4 separate regions of the Homo sapiens genome follow, and all the other regions are linked to region 3. The links are contacts of gene promoters, found by promoter capture Hi-C in human tissues and cell types (Jung and others, 2019). All regions are on one chromosome and are shown on one strand. Each heading gives the region's core, a stretch centred on a gene start or on the middle of the fragment in contact. The rest is flanking DNA. Distances are from core to core; before and after follow the strand shown. Region 1 overlaps WIPF3 (WAS/WASL interacting protein family member 3). Region 2 has its middle 59 kb from the start of MIR550A3HG. Region 3 holds the start of WIPF3 (WAS/WASL interacting protein family member 3). Region 4 has its middle 45 kb from the start of WIPF3.

Region 1 (3,051 bases), core at 59-2,558, 46 kb after region 3:
TCTCCCCCAGTCCTTGGCATCTCGGGATGGTGCTCAGCCTCACTGAGTTTCGCACTGTCCTCTCTGGAAATACAGCAAACCCTCCTGTGTCGTATTATGCTCTTGCCAGGCCCGACCTTGCCGGCCATGTCACCTTCTGCTTCTGTGCCAGGAGAGACTGCCCTCAGGAGGGTGCTGAGACTGGAGGTGGGGGACGGAGATTGAACCCCCCTTTCCCCAGGGCTCTGCAGAGCAGAATGTGAAGCTCACTTCCTGGTGTCTGCGATGTTCTCCTTGGCTCGGCCACAAGCAAGTTCACACATCAGCTCCTCTTTACCTTATTGGGGTTGTCACTTTTTAGCCCACCTCCTCTTCTTTTTTTGACCGAATCTTTTCAATGGAATCATCAAATCCTGACCCTCATCTGGGAAAAACCCTGGCTGCTCCTCCTCACCAGGGTCATGCAAGACCACTCCCTCCTCACCATTGACTTACATTCAAAGTAACAATATACTTTTGTGTTCCAGGCACACAAAATTTCCGTGACTGACAGTGCCAGGCTTGGCCTGTTTGGCTTAGATAAAAGCAATTGTCAAGCAGTGGACCTGGAAGGCTCGGTGGACTTTATGACGTTCAATGTCGTTCTTTCCTGCTGTTGGCACAGATGGTGAGGGCTATTGGCAAGACCAGCTGCATGGCCGCATGCTGGTGCAGGCTGGGCTGACTAGACGGGTGCCCTGAGAGCTGAGCTTCTTTCACATCTGCCTCATCAGTGCCCTCTGGGTAACCTTGGATTTCTGTGCCCTTCACCCTTCAGGCCCCACAGTGGGGACAGTCCTATAGGGAGAGGTTTGAGCGTGCTATTGATTTTCTTTCTTGTTTCATGTTGCTTTTGTTTCATTTAAAGTGTTGCTAGACAATGCCTGAAGAGAAAGGCTCCTCTAAAGCTTTTTATTTTAATTTTACTTATTTTTATTTTTTTAATTTTTTAATTTTTAATTTTTGAGATGGGAGTCTTGCTTTGTTACCCAGGCTGCAGTACAGTGGTACAATCATGGCTCACTGCAGCCTCCAGCTACTGGACTCAAGCAGTCCTCCTGCCTCAGCCTCCCAAATAGCTGAGACTACAGGCACACAACACCATGCCTAGCTAATTTATTTTTTATTTATTTTGTAGAGACAGGTCTCGCTTTGTTGCCCAGGCTGGTTTCAAACTCCTGGCGTCAAGCAATCCTCCTGCCTTGGCCTCCCAAAGCATAGGCATGAGCCACGATGCCTAGCCTAAAGCTTTAAACATGTTCTTCAAAGGCTGGGTTCTCAAGAGTAAAACAGGGAGAGGCTGGCCAAAAGTAGAAGGTGCCATGACCATACCACATCAGCTTCCTAAGGAGGATAGAAGGAACAAAATGAGATTTCATAGGAAAACTCTTTAAAATACAAAATCATGTACAGCCTTGTTCTTCAGTGAAATGAACTGAAATATGGCAGCTATATTAGGACATATTATTCTTGCTTTAACAAGAGCCAGACACCAAGAGAATCAAGACCAACAAGAATCATCTTACCACTCAGTTCCCTGATTCACTGCTTTGACACCTGGAGCAGTAGCCCTAGGGCTATGCAACCTGCTGGAACTTCTTGTATGTCTTCCCCAAGAAACAGGTGCATATTGCGAAACCACTTGTTCTCTTTGCTGCCAAATGTAGTTGCCCCCTACCCTGAACTCAGGATTTCTAACACAGACCCAGTGGTGATGGCTGAGTTTCAGGTTGGGAGGACAAGTTTAGAAAAAGGAAGGAGTGTGTGTCCAAAGTCACTTATTGACAGGGAGACTTTTCCACAGCAATTATAATCATACCTTCCTGTTATTATTCATAATAGTAATCCTCTAACATTTTGCTGTCAGCAGTGTGACAAATTAAAAAACATCTCCCCATAGAATATCACTGGATCTTTCAACACCTTCATGAGACAGGTAAGGTCTAATTTTGGGCTCCCCTAAAAGTAGATTCTGAGACAAGGCTTTGGGTGCAAGTAGTTTGTTTGGGAGGTGATTCCTGGATGCCCTGATAAGAGAGTGAGGAAGTGAAATAGAAGAGGGAGGAAAACCAGTAATGGGTGTACGGGGAACTGGGGCTGCACCCCTGCTGTATCCTGGAGAGACTGTGTGGAGCCTGCCTCAAGTCGTTCCACCAACTCTTGTGACTCTCAGGCACTTTCCCCATCTGTCTTGCAGGGGTGTGCCTTCTCCTCTAGGAGTTCCCCTGGCAGAGTCCAACAGGCAGCTAGCCCAGAGGGGAGGTGAAGTCATCCTCTGGAATAGGCTGAGCAGGTGTGCATGGGAGACCCACAGCATCTGCTATGGCTGTGCTTCTCACAGGGACAGGTTCATAGGGGAAGAAACAGGCACAGTGAGCTCCAGTGCTTGCTCAGAGTCCACAGGACTCCATCCCCTGCCCTCTGTCCCCTCCACCACAGTGCATCCCCTAAAGCCCCAGGGCAGTCAGTATTAGGAGACTAGCAACAGGGCCAGTAGCAATGGCCTTCTCTGACAGTGTTTCTCACACAGGGGCCCTGCATGGCTGGTGTGGCCCCTTCTTTTAGAGGCTCTTTTAGAGCATGGTGATTAAGATTCCTGAGCCAGACTTCCTGTGTTGCCATCCCAGAAGTTCTGCGGCCTTGGTTGAGCAAATTACTTAAATCTTCTGTGCCCTAGTTTCATTCTCTATTAAAATACTACCTATCTCATTATGGCTGATGTGAAGACTAATTGAATTAATACATATGAAGAGCTTAGTAGAGAATAAGGACCATCCAGGTGTTCACTGGTGGTGGTGTGGTTGGGCATAGCGATGCTCTTTTTCCTTCTACTACCGTTTTCCTGGCTTTGGAATTAATGTGAACCGGTAAAACAAAAGCTCACATTTCATTGCAGCATTTATGTCTGATAGGGATCTCACGAAGTTTAAACACCATTACACTTCGGATGATTTATGTATCACCTGCCTTCACTGCACGCTGGTAAACTCCCTAAGGAAGGAGATTGCACTTGCCTTGCCGTTCCTGGCATCA
Region 2 (3,017 bases), core at 374-2,873, 62 kb before region 3:
CTGGGGACCAAATAACACAGTGTGCAGCAGAAGAGACATCCCCAGAGCTGGGAAGGTCTGGATCGAGTGTATTCGTTTCTTAGGGCAACTGTAAGAAAGTACCACAAACTGGGTGGTTTAAAACAACAGAAACTTGTCTCACAGTTCTACAGACTCAAAGTTCAAAATCAAGGTGTCAGCAGAGCCATGCTCTCTAGGGAATTTAAAGTCTCTAGGGAATAATCTTTCCTTGCTTCTAACTCCTTTGGTTGCCAACCTTGGCATTCCTTGGCTTATGCAAGCCCTGCCTCTGTCTTCACATGGCCTTATTTCACCTGTGTCTCCTCTGTGTTCTCAAATTTCTCTGCTTGTAAGGACACCAGTCATAGGATTTAGGGCCCATCGTATTCCAGTATGACCTCATTCGAGTGCAGTGGCACCATCTCAGCTCACCACAACCTCCGCCTCTCAGGTTCAAGCGATTCTCCTGCCTCAGCCTCCCAAGTAGCCGGGATTACAGGCTCACACCATCACACTGGGGTAATTTTTGAATTTTTAGTAGAGATGGGGTTTCACCATGGTGGTCTGGCTGGTCTCAAACTCCTGACCTCAAATGATCTGCCCGCCTCGGCCTCCCAAAGTGATGGGATTACAGGTGTGAGCCACCACACCCAGTCTGACCTCATCTTGATTACATCTGCAAAGACCTCTTCTCTAAATAAAGGCACATTCACAGGTACTGGGGTTAGAAGCTCAACATGTCTTTTGGGGCTGCCCACAGTGGCTCATGCCCGTAATCCCAGCATTTTGAGAGGCCAAGGCGGGCGGATCACCTGAGGTCAGGAGTTCGAGACCAGCCTGGCCAACATGGTGAACCCCATCTCTACTAAAAATACAAAAAATTATCTAGGCATGGTGGCAGGCGCCTATAATTCCAGCTACTGAGGAGGCTGAGGCAGAAGAATTGCTTGAACCTGGGAGGCAGAGGCTGCAGTGAGCTGAGATCATGTTACTGCACTCCAGCCTGGGCAACAGAGCGAGACTCTGTTAAAAAAAAAAGTCTTTTGGGAGAAGAGAATTGATGCATAACACAAGCAAAGTGACCAAACCCAGGAAAAGCCAGCTGTAAAACCAGCCAGGGTGGGAGCCCAAGGCCATCCAGTAGATGAGAGCTGTCTAATGGTCTAATGCCCACGTCTCCTCCGCCCTCTGGCCTTGGCCTTGGGAAGCAACGCTCAGCAAGGGAGAGGCGGTGGGGATGGGCAAGGAGCAAGACAGATGGTCACACCTGTCTCCCCAAAAGCAGACAGCCAAGGACTGCACTCTGTAGCAGGAAAAAGATGTTCTGTCTTTAAGCACTACATTGTTAATTAATATCTTGGACTAAGCATTCCAGAAAAACTTCTTATTTTGGAAACGTTTAAGCATACAAAACTAGAGGAAACAGAATACCGAGTTCCCTATGTACCCATTGCCCAGCTTCAACAATTATCAACTCAAGGCCAATCATTTTTTTTTAATCTACACCCTCACCCACTCCTCCCTCTCATAGGCTTCTTTTCATGTAAATCCCAGATATATAATCTGGAGATATTTCATTCAGTTATTTCAACATGTCTCTGAAAGAGAAAAACTGTTTTAAAAATAAAACAACAACAGACACCGAGGCCTATGCGAGGTCTCAGGTAGGGAGGAGGGAGAGGAGCAGAAAAAAATAACCACTGGGTACTAGGCTTAGTACCTGGGTGATAAAACAGTCTGTACAACAAACCCCCATAACACGAGTTTACCTGTATAACAAACCTGCACATGTACCCATGAGCCTAAAATAAAAGTTTAAAAAACAAAAATTTAAAAAACCCCACATTATTGTAGCCTCAAAATTAAAAACAATCCCTTAACATCAAATATCTACTGAATGTTCAAATATTCCTGTTTGATGTGTAAAACTTCTCATATGTTTTCTTTGTTCACCTGAAGATCCAAAAAGATCTCTTCACACATTGCAATTAGTAATTTCTTGTAAGTCACTTTTAACCTGTAGGTTCCTCTCTCCTCCTCATCTTTTTTTCTTACAACTTTTTATAAAGAAACTGAGTGTTTCTCCTATAGCGTGTCCCAGTGTGGCTATTGCTTATTGCACTCCATGCTGTTCTTCTATGCTTTCCCATGTATTTTCTATAAATTGGATGTTAAATCCGGAGCAGTGATTCTCAAAGGTAGCCCACTATAATTATCTGAGGAGCTCTTGAAAACCCTGAAGCCGGCCGGGCACGGTGGCTCACACCTGTAATCCCAGCACTTCAGGAGGCCGAGGCGGGCGGATCACCTGATGTCAGGAGTACGAGACCAGCCTGGCCAACATGGTGGAACCCCAACTCTACTAAAAACACAAAAATTAGCCAGGTGTGTTGCTGGGTGCCTGTAGTCCCAGCTACTCAGGAGGCTGAGGCAGGAGAATCACTTGAACCCGGGAGGCAGAGGTTGCAGTGAGCTGGGATCACGCCTCTGTACTCCAGCCTGGGCAACAGAGTGAGACTGGGTCTCAAAAAAATAAAATTAAATAAATAAATAAATAAATAAATAAATAATTAAATAAATATCCCTGAAGCCCAGGCAAATCCAAGAGCAATTATACCAGAGACTCTGGGGGGAACTGAGACACAGGAATTTTTTAAACTACCTCAGATGATCCCAGTATGCAACCAACATTGAAAACCACTGATCTACAGTTTTGATCATATTTAGGCTCAGTTTTTTCCCCTCTGGCATAGGACGGTTTCTTGTATACCTTACATTGGATATTCAAAATTTCCAAATGGACGGAAGAAAATGTGGAAGTGTCCATCACCTATGACTGACCAGAGAGCCTCTAGAATGGCCCTATTCTTCATCTAGTGGCAAGAGATGATTACCCCCCACTAGACAAGTTCTGAAGAGACGAAGGGAAGAAAAATAAAGCATGTTTAATCATGTCACAAATTGCCCTTGATCAATGAGCCAGTAACACATAAGTGGATAGAAAAATATCTAGAAGG
Region 3 (3,059 bases), core at 114-2,613:
CAATCCACGTGTGAGATCTTCCCTGCTGGCATTGGCTGCTCCCTCACCTGGGTCCCCAACATTTCACACAAGCCTCAGCACAGCGCTGAGCGCCAGGTTTCTCCTCTATTCCAGACCAGCAGCAACTTTAGAGTTAGACACCTTGCCCTGAGGCCCTGCAGAGTGTCTGGCTCATGGCAGATACTCAAACACCGAGGCTGAGTGAACAGTCCACGAGTACCCGCTTAGCTCCTCCACTAGCAGGAATGCCCAGGACATGGGCAATACAGAATCCTCACCCAATGATCTCAGCACCTACAGCAATGCATTCAGCCTCGGACACAAACTTTCTGCATCCTCCAAGGGCCTGAACAAGAAATGTGACAGAAGCAAGGTTTTCCGTTCTTCAAGCTTATTTCAGGTTTGTTTTTGTTTGTTTCTTTGTTTGGTTTGGTTTGGTTTTTTGAGACAGGGTCTCACTCTATCGCCCAGGCTGGAGTGCAGTGGTTCATTGCAACTTTTGCCTCCTGGGTTCAAGAGATCCTTCCACCTCAGCCTCCCGAGTAGCTAGGACTAGAGAGCGCCACCACACCCGGCTAACTTTTGTATTTTTTGGTAGAGACAGGGCTTCACCATGTTGGCCAGGCTAGTAACTCCTGACCTCAAGTGATCCGTCCACCTCGGCCTCCCAAAGTCCTTGGATTCCAGGCTTGAGCCACCGCGCCCGGCCCTATTTCAGTTTTCAGTCTGCTTTCTCCTCCCTTCGACTCTACCTGGGACATCAATCTACCTCCCCAGGCTACCCGGATAATTCTCTCATCACCTGGCTAATTCACACTCAGTCTTCAGTTTTTCTCGTCGACGTCAGCTCCTCAAGAAGCCCTCCCTGACCTACTCCCCACCCCAAGTTTAGATCAGGTGCTCCCTCTGGGAGCCGGCTCAGGAGGCCTCTGCCTCCTCTTGGTTGTGCTGTAATCGCCCATTGGTCGCTTTCCTTTTCTAGACTGTGAACTCCACGAGGGCAAGAGGTAATCTTGTTCTCTCGTCCCCATCGCTTATGACACCGCCTGGAGCTTAGTAAGGGCTCAACATTTTGGAATAAATTCAAGGAGTGGCGTGTCCCCAGAGTAGCTGTGCTGGGCCGTGTGCCGCCCGCGCAACAGCTCCTATTTGGGGAATTCCAGCCTTAGGCCTCAGTCTCTCCGCAGCTGAGACTTGGGACTCTGTACCCGGGAGGCGCGCCCGCCGACTTGGGACCCGCCTCCAGGGTCCCAGAGCGACCCCGCCCGCCGGGGCCGTGTCCCTGCCGCGGGGCGGCGGCGGCTCCCAGGCAGGAGCCTGCGAGCAGGTGGGGGCGGCGGCCCCGCCTCCGCGTCCCGGCAGCACCAGAGCCGGTGGCCGGGGAGCGAGCCGGGCGCACCGAGCGCAGCTCGGCGGTAGCGGCGCCGCTTGGAGCACGGGCGCTGCGGGACGGAGCCCGGAGCCGGAGGCGGCGGCGGCGGAGACGTCGGCCGGAGCTCGAGTCCAGTCCAGCCCCCGGCTCCGCCACCTGCAGGTAGCGGCTTCCCGCGCGGGTGCGGGTCGGTGCCCGAGGGTGGAAGGAACGGGCGGTGTGGCGGCCGCCGCCCTGGTCGGTCCCGGAGCAGAGTGGCCCGGCCCGGGACAGAGATCCTGAGGGCGTGGGAGGGCCGGGGAACCCCCGCCGGGCTGCAGCCCCGGGCCCAGGAGGTTGTCGACGTGCCGCGCGGCGCTCACGCCCCCCACCCGCACCCTGCCACGCCGCCCCGGCCGGGCCGGGCCGGGCCGGGCGGAAACAAACCGCGGGGTGGGGAGCGAGGTCACCACGGGGTTGCTTGGTGACTTCTCCGGACTGGACTCCCCGGTGAGCAGCCCCTGGCACCGAGGCCGCCTCGGCCTGGTCCTTCGCGACGCTCTCTCTTCTCCGCTTCGCCCCCGGAACAAAAGGCTGGGGTCTCGCTGGGGAGGGGGCTGTCGCGGGAAGGGCTGGGGCGGAGTAAAAGAGAGCTAGGAAATTGCAGAGCCGGAGGTGGCTTGGGGAATACAGAAGGAGCCCCCTAGTGAGGAAGCCAACTCCAGAGATGTGAAGTGACTTGTCCAAGGTCACACAGCTCATGGGGACAGAGCGCAGGTCTCTGGACACCCCTCCCGTGCTCATCTCCAAGCCCCTGGGGTCAGTAGTCAGACTGTGCTCCAGCAATGTACATTTGGCCACAAATGGGTTTAGGGTCCTTTGGAGGATTAGGTGGTGGGTAGGTAGGTGGCAGAGCAGATTTCCCCCAGCCCCTGACACGCACTCTCTGAAGGTGGCGGGGAGGGCGGGCACCCGGCCGCCCTGGACCTGGAGGAGCGCCGCCCGGGCCCCGTGGGCAGGCAGGCACCGGCTCTCAGGAACAGCGCCTTTGGAGGGTGGCGTGCCAGCCGCGTGGGTGTGCCCGTGGCGGGCGCCGGGGCGGCGTGGGGACCGTGTGTGCGCCTCCCTCTGGAAAGAAGTTTCTGCAGGGAAAGGCCAGGAGAGCGGTTCCATGCGCCCTGGGACAGTGTGGCCAATCCCTGACACTCAGGGCGCTTTGTAACTGGCTGTATTGGGGAGGAAAGTTACTCTGTAGCAGGAAGTTAGGCTGTCTCTTCGCCTCTGTGCCTGGGGTCCTTGGCTGTAAATGAGGGCCTTGTTTGGCATGACCAGTGTGATTTAGAAGGTTTGTGCCCCTCCGCCTCCTCCTTTCCAGAATCTTTTCTCACTTCACAGGGAGGACTGGGAGTGCACTTCTTGTGCCCAGCATTAATAGTTATCACTGGGACTCCTGCCTCCCTTCAATTTTTTTTAACTTTATCATTACGAAAGAGGTCAGAGGAGAGGTTGTTTTTGGGCCTTGCAAGGAGATAAACTCCAGGTCAATACCTGGACAGGACATGAGGGAGGCTTCTGGGATGCTAGAAATGCTTCTCACCTTGACCTAAGAATTACTGAAGTTATACCCTTGAGACTTGTGCACTTAACGTAAATTCTACCTCAGTGAAAAAGTAAATAAAAATGTGATGCTAAAGTCCACTCATTGTGG
Region 4 (2,895 bases), core at 315-2,814, 45 kb before region 3:
CTTGAATCTCAATGAGCTGTTCCCATTGTGCTAGGGATCAAGACCCTATTTCTAGTGAGTTCAAATATCCCTGCAACAGAATAATAAAGAGGTACTACATGTCATGTTAAGCAAAAGCAAAGTGCTCTTGAACTACTTCTTAAAGAATCAGGAAGAAGAGGCAATAGCAGACCTAGAGTAACATACCAAGTGTAGATAGTAGCCTCAATCAGTTCAATAACTATTATACAACCACCTCTTTATTTAGTCCTTGTTATCCACAGTCAGGCATCAAGCCCAGTCCCTACCTCCAGCTTTTTTGACCAGCCAAACTGTACTGTTGAATCGGTAGATAATGGGCATTTAATCTTTGCCTACATTTAACCTCTCCTGGTATGTAATTCTACTTCAACAGAAAAATCTTTTCTAGCACAGTAAAACCAGGTAACTCCTAGGAGTGTAACTTTATAGCTTTTGCAGTAGCAAAAAAAAAATGTGGGTGTTCATTTGGCATCTGTGCCCCTTCATTGGGCTGATATTTTACAATGTCCAGCCAGGCTCAGCGACACACACCTGTAATGTCAGCACTTTAGAAGGCTAAGGTGGGCAGATGGCTTGAGTTCAGGAGTTCAAGTCTAGCCTGGGCAACATGAAAAGACCCCATCTATACAAAAAAAAAAAAAAATACAAAAATTAGCCAGATGTTATTTTGTATACCTGTAGTCCCAGCTAATCTGGAGGCTGAGGTGGGCACATCACTTGAGCCCGGGAGGTTGAGGCTGTAGTGAGCCAAGACAGTGTTACTGCACTCCAGTCTGGGCAACAGAATGAGACCCTGTCTCAAAAAAAAAAAAAAAAAAAAAGTCCAATCCATGTAGTCTGACAAAGAAATCCACAGTGTAGTCCAATCAAATAGGCAAACATCCATACAAATTGTGACCCAGGGCTCTCAACTAAAAGTAATATTAGTCCTGAATCCTGACAGAGGGATTCATTTACCATGGAGTAAGCCTAAAAAGCTTTCTGAGGCAGTTGGGAAACAGGGTCTAGCCCTAGTCCTCCTTAAGTTTGAATAAGACAAAATCTGTCCAGAGGGATGCTTTGGAGCTTGAACTCAGCCCCAGAAGACAGCAACAAAGGCTGGTGCAGCATATCTCCAGGATGGTTAATTGTATGTGTTCATTTGACTGGGCTAGGGATGCCCAGATAGCTGGTAGAACATTTATGGGTGTATCTGTGAGGGTGTTTCCACAAGAGACTGGCATTTTAATCTTTAGACTGAGTAAAGAAGATAAGATCTCCCTCACCAACGCAAGTGGGCATCATCCCATCCATTGAGGGCCTGAGTATGACAAAAAGTAACTTCGCTCTCTGCTCGAGCTGGGATATCCATCTTCTCCTGCTCCCAGATGTTGGTGCTCATGGTTCTCAGGCCTTCAGACTTGAACCAGGATTTATACTATTTTCTCACCTGACCCTTATCCCTTCAGGTTTTGACTCAAACTACAAATGACACCACTGGCTTTCTTGGGCCTCCAGTTTGTAGATGGCAGATTATGGGACTTCACAGCTTCCATTATCTCAGGAGCCAATCTTTCATAATAATCTCTCTCTCTCTCTCTCTGAATAATGATATTTTGCATCTTCAAAACTTACATTAAATGATCATAGAGTCTTTAAATTGGGAAAATTTAGTAAATCATCCAGAGACAAATGTTACTTTTCTCTAGATCTTTCTTCATAACATCAGTATCTGTTAATACTATATATATACTATATATATTATATATACTATATATATATTATAAGGTAGATATATATATTATATATATATACCTTTCTTGCTAAACTAACTTTCATTAATTGTTGATTTGGTTAGACTATCTTCAAATAATTTTTTTTCCAAAAAATCTACAGTAGAGATTTCTCTTATGAGTAGTTGAGCATCTATTCATTCAAAATATTTATTGAAGTCACCATATGGTGACCTTATCTTTACTCCTTCGACCTGAGAATACTTAAAGGGTGCAATACTACTTTTATATATATATATATATATATGTATGTATATAATATGTATAGCATATATATTATATACTATATATAGTATACTATAGTGTATATATACTGTATATATAGTATATAGTGTATATGTGTATATATATATATATATAGAGAGAGAGAGAGAGATTCTGTTTCTCTGAAAAACCTTAACTAATACAATCCCTTTATGTCTCTGTTTTTGCTGTCATGGATTAAAAATAATATTAATAAAATAAAATAAAAAAATTGGGGCTGGGCACAGTGGCTCACGCCTATAATCCCAGCACTTTGGGAGGCCAATGTGGGCAGATTGCTTGAGCCCAGGAGTCTGAGATCAGTCTGGAAGCCATGGCGAAATCCCATATCTACAAAAAATACCAAAAAATTAGCCAGGCTTGGCACATGCCTGTAGTTCCAGCTACTCAAAAGGCTGAGGTGGGAGGAACACCCAAGCCTGGGAGTTTGAGGCTGTAGTGAGCCATGATTGTGCCACTGCACTCCAGCCTGGGTGACAGAGTGAGACCCTGTCTCAAAAACAAAAAATAATTGGGTTATTTTGAGGCCTCTTGCTTCCACATTCCATGTTAAGGTGGAGCATATATTGCCTAAAAGTAGTATTGCACCCTTTAAGTATTCTCAGGTCGAAGGAGTAAAGATAAAGTCACCATATGGTGACTTCAATAGATATTTTGAATGAATAGATGCTCAACTACTCATGAGAAACCTCTACTGTAGATTTTTTGGAAAAAAATTATTTGAAGATACTCTAACCAAATCAATGATTAATGAAAGTATAGCAAGAAAGGGAAAATTGTAGTTCAAAAGGATAAGGTCTCTTCTTATTCAGTTTGCACCCCAACTTCAGGAATCTCT

The links. Contacts are between HindIII fragments. The study calls those that stand out against the background at their distance.
Region 1: a contact is called between a fragment that was not itself captured here and the fragment with the promoter of WIPF3 in region 3, in 9 of the 25 tissues and cell types used here (aorta, bladder, heart left ventricle and 6 more).
Region 2: a contact is called between a fragment that was not itself captured here and the fragment with the promoter of WIPF3 in region 3, in 7 of the 25 tissues and cell types used here (H1 embryonic stem cells, bladder, heart right ventricle and 4 more).
Region 4: a contact is called between a fragment that was not itself captured here and the fragment with the promoter of WIPF3 in region 3, in 5 of the 25 tissues and cell types used here (aorta, bladder, heart left ventricle and 2 more).

Annotation. Positions count from the first base shown.
Region 1 is chr7:29,851,036-29,854,086 of GRCh38, forward strand. The region is part of intron 2 of WIPF3 (WAS/WASL interacting protein family member 3); the gene reads left to right. Among named protein-coding and RNA genes, the nearest start is that of WIPF3, 46 kb to the left of the region's middle. The HindIII fragment of the contact is 3,067 bases long and covers 1-2,842 here.
Region 2 is chr7:29,742,803-29,745,819 of GRCh38, forward strand. No RefSeq gene overlaps it. Among named protein-coding and RNA genes, the nearest start is that of MIR550A3HG, 59 kb to the left of the region's middle. The HindIII fragment of the contact is 4,556 bases long and covers 1-3,017 here.
Region 3 is chr7:29,805,145-29,808,203 of GRCh38, forward strand. It overlaps WIPF3 (WAS/WASL interacting protein family member 3), which reads left to right and starts at 1,364. Exons shown (of 9, transcript NM_001080529.3): 1 at 1,364-1,534. RefSeq lists an enhancer at 1,100-2,009. The HindIII fragment of the contact is 12,406 bases long and covers 1-3,059 here.
Region 4 is chr7:29,760,386-29,763,280 of GRCh38, forward strand. No RefSeq gene overlaps it. Among named protein-coding and RNA genes, the nearest start is that of WIPF3, 45 kb to the right of the region's middle. The HindIII fragment of the contact is 7,841 bases long and covers 1-2,895 here.